Regions from separate parts of the Homo sapiens genome. Here region 2 is linked to region 1. The links are contacts of gene promoters, found by promoter capture Hi-C in blood cells and fetal thymus (Javierre and others, 2016). All regions are on one chromosome and are shown on one strand. Each heading gives the region's core, a stretch centred on a gene start or on the middle of the fragment in contact. The rest is flanking DNA. Distances are from core to core; before and after follow the strand shown.

Region 1 (2,956 bases), core at 428-2,927:
TGTGTTACCCAGTTTGGTCTCGAACTCCTGGGCTCAAGTGATCCTCCCACTTTGGCCTCCCAAAGTGCTGGGATTACAAGTGTGAGCCACTACACCCAGCAGTCGGGATCATTTAGATAGTAACTGGCAGAACAGGGCTACAATCTGAATTTGGGATTCATGCTTCTCTGTTCTTACACCATGCTGCCTAAACTTGTAGTGATAATTCCAAGGAAAAGTTCTTTAGATTATCTGTGATGTGCTCAGGTCTTTAAAAAGCGCACTTTGAAGAATGCAGATAAGGCAAAAGGAGTGTTTTTATATACTTTTGCATTATCTTTTTCTCCATGTGATCGTCAACAGTTTCTACTAAGAATTTCTCTACTGAATGTCTGTACTGAGAAAGTCATGTAATACAATGTGACAAACTTAAATTTTATTTTTCTGCAGTTTCTACAGCAGTATAATCACTACAAATCCAATGTGGAGATTTTCAAATTGCAACCAAATAAACCCAGCAAAGAACTAGCAGAGCTGGTGATGTTTATGGCACAGGTAAGAATATAATTGCTTAAATAAAGACCAGTATTAACACACAGTTTGCTGAATGTTTTTTCACTAATACTCAACCTTATTCCACTCTGGAATGGGAACTTAATTAAAATATTTTTCTAACTTTCCCTTTTTGCAAATTTTATTTTCTCCCTATCATGAGTTAGAGAATGTCACTAGATCTTTTTGCATAACTAACCAGGACAAAACTTTAAGACTATTTTTTTTCTTCAAATTCATCATAAAAGCAGGTACTAAATCATGCCATAAATATTACTAAGACTAGAGAAACCATGATAAATGTTGGAGAAATTAACATGTAGAAGGAAAAGAAGGTTGTTTGGAACCATCTACTTCTATGAAACATAGCCTTTTACTCTCGTTTTGCAGAACATCCTAAATGTATGCATCTGAATTATAGGAGAGAAAGAGAGCAACTTCAGAAGAGCCTTTGCTTTGTTACAGATTAGTCACTGCTACCCAGAGTACCTAAGTAATTTTCCTCAAGAGGTGAAAGATCTTCTCTCCTGCAATCATACCGTATTGGATCCAGATCTGCGAATGGTAGGACCAGTAGTTGGATGAATAAATTGTGCTGTGTTCATGTGTGCTGCGTTCATATATATTTAAATGAGAACAGCCTCTAAGCTAATTATCTTCAGAAAACGTAAATTATAATGTATTATCCTTTCCTAAAAATCCTTCTATGGCTTCTCATTTATACTTAGAGTAAAACGGAAACTTAATAACCTGGCTCAAAAGTGCCTGCATGATCTGCTTCCAGCCTGTGTTTCTGATATCATATTGTTTTCAGCTACACTGTGATCTTTCTATTCTTCCAGCACACTAACCCTACAGGATGCTCTTTAACCTTTTGAGATGATTTCTTCTAGTCATTCAAATCTCATATGCATGTAGAATCCTAATCACAACTTGTCATTTTTATAATGCCTTAAATTAGTAAACTTACCCATTAGACAGTCAGTTTGAGCATTTCATCATTGTCCTTTTAGTGGTTGGGGTTGAGTCCTGGCTGACATTCCCTTCACGAGGCCGGTGTACCTGTTTGCCCCACTTGTTGTGAATGTCAGCTGCTGGTGGCCCTCAGCTGCCCTTTCTCTGCAACATTGTCCTCAGCTAAATCGGAGTCCTAGTGCCTGGGAGGTGTCCTCCTACCCTAGTAGCCCACAGCCCATTATCATGTGGTACAAAAGCCCAGCCCATTACCTCAGGGTGGCTCTGACTCCAATGCAGGATGTGCTCCAGTGTTTTCCTGTGTTGGGACTAAAGCTAGTCTCCAGTCAAGGGCACATCCTTGCTTTGCTTTGCGTGTCTCTGCACTATCCTCCTTCCTTCACTTCCTTTCTGAGATCATACCCCCAACAAATCACTTGTAATAAATCAGTCTCTGCTTCTAGGGACTAAGACATTTCCAAATTTAATACATCTGCTTTTCAAACCTCTTTACAGCAGATAAGTACGCAAATATGATCACAAAACGTACTAATATCCTATAGCACAACTTGTAGAAATGCCAAGTCTTTAGATGAATATTTGTTTTCTTTTAGACTTTCTCAGGTTTTTTGTATTTCTATCATTTTTATACTACTTTAGGATTTTAGTAATTTGATTAGGCCAAAAAGAAAAAGAATACTGTCTCAGACAAGCCAAGGTTTCAGGCCCTGGGTTGTCAACTGATTGATACTCAGCTGGTACATGGGACCTGGCAGTATAGCCCAAGGGACTCCAAACTTGAACCCCTAGTCTAAAGGCTTTTACCTATGTCATGTTACTCTTGAAGTCCTTGTAGGTCATAGAGATTTGATATTTTGAGTATAGAGACTTAATGGCTTTCCAAGTAATTAGGATTTCTTTAAGTTTTATTTTCCTGGCAGTACCCCACCAAACTGGTCTGTGGGCATTATTAAATTAATATATATGCCAGGTGCACCTGTAGTCCCGGCTTCTTGGGAGGCTGAGGCAGGAGGATTGCTTGAGGTCAGGAGTTTGAGGCTGAGGTGTGGTATGAGCATGCCTGTGAATAGCCACTACACTGCAGCCTAGGCAACATAGCAAGATCCCACCTCTAAATTTTTTTTTAAATGGAAAAAAATGTGTATGTATATTTCTTTATAGTGCTTTATGATGATTAGTAGGTTTTTAAAAAATAATAAAGATTTCCGCCAGGCGCGGTGGCTCACGCCTGTAATCCCAGCACTTTGGGAGGCCGAGGCAGGAGGATCACCTGAGGTCGGGAGTTCGAGACCAGCCTGACCTACATGGAGAAACCCTGTCTCTACTAAAAATACAAAATAAGCCGGGCATGGTGGTGCGTGCCTGTAATCCCAGCTACTTGGGAGGCTCAGTCAGGAGAATTGCTTGAACCTGGGAGGCGGAGGTTGCAGTGAGCCGAGATCGCGCCATT
Region 2 (3,278 bases), core at 584-3,083, 82 kb before region 1:
GTTTACTGCAAGTTTATTGCAACCAGCTATATATTCTTTAGTATAAAGACAAGACACAAGTTAGGATTTTATTTCCATCTCTGCTGTTTCAATGTCATGATCACTATTCACACTCAAAACAAAACATTTTTATGTCAAGATCAAATGAATATTCCTTTCCCATACTCCACTAATCCCTTAAAATCATGCCTCACTTTTGTCTCTTTTGTATTTAGATCACTAAAATTTTTTATTTTTCCTTTAGTTTCTGAGTGCCTTTTTTGGTGGTGATGGTAGTGGTGATCATGGTGGTTGTTGGGAAAAGTAGTATTTGTCTCCATCGTGTACCTAATGTGCTTCTATTTCCAATTCTATTGCTTGGAATCCATTTTGTTCTTATTCTTGAAGACCAGTTCTAACCTGGACAAACTGCTCTCCAGGCCAACAACTAGGAGACTAGAAAATCTTTCAATTGAATCCCTGGGTACTTTTTCCATTTCTTGTACTCTACAGTGGTTTTATTTTTTTAATTTATTTTTTGTCTCATGCTACTGCATCTACAGCTTTTTGCTTCATATTTATCTTTGTTTTGTAGGAATATATTCTGAAATTATTTCCTTAAAAAGGATGCATGGAAGATAAACATTTTCAGTGCTTTCATTTTTGAAATGTGAATCTGATGAACAGTTGGCTAGTATATAATTCTAGGTTCAAAATAATTTTTCCTCAGAACTTTGTATAATACATGAAACTCTAAAAGATTTGTATAAATTCAATGTTTAGTGCCAAAATTATTCTATTTTTCACTATCATTGTTTTAAACTAATTTTCAAGTGCAGGCTTTATATTACTTTTAGCTTTCTTGTTTTTATGTTCTCCGAGTCTCTGTCAAATAATGATATATAAATACATGACTACTTAAATACCTATTGGGAAATTCTCATCAAAGGAATATATATGGCACAACCGGAGAGACCTTATTGTAAGTCCATTTTCTAATTTTTTCAACAAAATTCAGGATTTTTTCCTAGTTTCTTTTTGTGAATCTTGTCTTCCTAACTACAGATTATAAGCTTCTTTTAATCTCATTTTAAACTCCTCATTTCTCTCCCCATTACTCCCAGCTTAAAATGGTATAAGGTACAGAGAATATATTCAAGACCTAGTTAAGAGAGATTTGGTCAGCAATGCTTTTAACTCTTCCTGAATTATGTCTTGAATCTAGTATATGCTTATTTATAATTGTAACAAGTTTTTGCAATGACTCATTCCTTCATTACATTTAATCTACAAATGTTTACTGAGCACCTACTATAGGCCAAGCACTATTCTAGGTGTTGGGATGTTGTCAGTGAACAAAATAAAAATCCCTGCCTCCAGGAAGCTTCCGTCCATGAAGTAGTAGAGAAAAAGAAGGCAGGCAATAAACAATGAAAATAATAAATTAGTAATTACGCAGTGAAAGAGATAAAGAATGAAGAAGTGTGAAGTGTGGGGAGTTGGGGCACACTATAGTATTAAATAGAGTGGTCAAGGTAGGCCTCACTGAGAGAGTGAAATTTAGCAAAAACCTGAAGGAGGTAAGGGACTTAAACAAGTGATTAGCTGTAGGAAAGCATTCCTTACAGAGAGAATAGCTAGAAGTGTATTGTTCAATGGCCACTAGCCACCACATGTAGCTACTGAGCATTTGAAATGTGACTTGGGGCCGGGCTCGGTGGCTCACACTTGTAATCCCAGCACTTTGGGAGGCTGAGGTGGGCGGATCACGAGGTCAGGAGATCAAGACCATCCTGGCTAACACAATGAAACCCCATCTCTACTAAAAATACAAAAAATTAGCCAGGCATGGTGGCAGGCACCTGTAGTCCCAGCTACTCGGGAGGCTGAGGCAGAAGAATGGCGTGAACCCGAGAGGCGGAGCTTGCCGTGAGCCGAGATCCCACCACTGCACTCCAGTCTGGGCAACAGAGCGAGACTCTGTCTCAAAAAAAAAAAAAAAAAAAGATTTATTTTTCTTTCACATAAGGATGAGATGCTCTGAGATGTTTAAATCTCTGCAAAATGGTGGATCATTTTTAAATGCTTAGCAATAACGATAATTTATAACAACTAATAGCTAGCCTTTATTAACTACTTAATTACACACAAGGCACTGTATATTTTATATTGACTAAACTGTATAGTTCTCATAATAAACCTAAAAAAATAGTTATTAACTTTTTTCCCAAGGTTGGAAACCCCCATGAAGTAACAATCATTAGAACATAAGTCAAATTTAAAAGAAAACTAAAGATACTTAATGCTTTTTAATGTAAGCTTACTCTCTCTGGAACAGGATATCTTAGCTTTTAAAAAATAGGAAGCAAAACTAAAAGGGGTAATCCCTCTTGCAGATAAGAACAGTGGATGATTACATGAGTAGGTCTGGTAGCTTTCTTATACGAGACCATCATCCATAATGACTTTCTCTTCTGAAGTAACTCTTTAGTGAGTTCCTGTCTATTCCTACTCCAAATACCAAACTCAAATGCTCTCTTCTTAGCATTTACATAAAACTAACAAAAGGCTACCCTCAAACTATTCCAGAAACATTGCCATCTAAAATTGTCCTTTAGGGAAAGGGACTCTAGAAATTCGTGTAAAAATCCACTTCAGTGGTTCACAATTCTTATTCTTTGGCATTCTTCTCATTTACTCTTTAAACCAACATTTACTGAGCCCCTAACTAAAGTGACAATTCAGTTGAAGACTAAAGAAGTAGGAGTTAGGGAAACAAAGAAAGGAGGGCCTTCCAGTCAGATAAAAAAGTATGTACAAGGCACTGATGGCATACATAGCACATGTTCAAGAAAATGCAAGCCATTTAATACAGCTGGACAGCATGATATGTTTTATGGAACACAAAGAGTTAAAAAGTTGGGGAGGAAAGAGGAATCAGATCATAAAGAGCGCCTTGTGTGTAATGCTTAGAAATTGGAACTTGACTGAAATGGCAATGGGAAACCATGAAGTAGAGGAGAAACATAATCTGATTGAAAAGGTCACTTTCATAGAACAGAAGAATAAATTACCAAGACATTTTAACAAGAGGCAGGAAGATGTGTTGGGAGATTACCTGAGAAATCCAAGTGAGAAGTGGTGGGAGCTTGACCTAAATCAGTGGTAATAAACCCCAAATCAAAATGATTTGGTATCAATTATATAGCATAGGGATGTGTAGAGAAATAGTGTATTTTGAGAAAAGGAGTTTAAACTGACCCCCAGATTTCTGGCTAAGGAGTCTGAATGGTTAGGAG

What was found. Contacts are between HindIII fragments. The CHiCAGO score rates a contact against its expected background, and 5 or more counts as called.
Region 2: a fragment that was not itself captured here is called in contact with the fragment with the promoter of SDAD1-AS1 in region 1 in 8 of 17 cell types (naive B cells, total B cells, M0 macrophages and 5 more); the score reaches 10.3 in naive B cells.

The regions. Positions count from the first base shown.
Region 1 is chr4:75,979,511-75,982,466 of GRCh38, reverse strand. It overlaps SDAD1-AS1 (SDAD1 antisense RNA 1), which reads right to left and starts at 1,677. Exons shown (of 3, transcript NR_125906.1): 1 at 1,502-1,677. SDAD1 (SDA1 domain containing 1) reads left to right here. Exons shown (of 22, transcript NM_018115.4): 2 at 430-534; 3 at 997-1,095. The HindIII fragment of the contact is 11,776 bases long and covers 1-2,956 here.
Region 2 is chr4:76,061,267-76,064,544 of GRCh38, reverse strand. It overlaps a transcript of ART3 not described here. Among named protein-coding and RNA genes, the nearest start is that of ART3, 12 kb to the left of the region's middle. The HindIII fragment of the contact is 935 bases long and covers 1,366-2,300 here.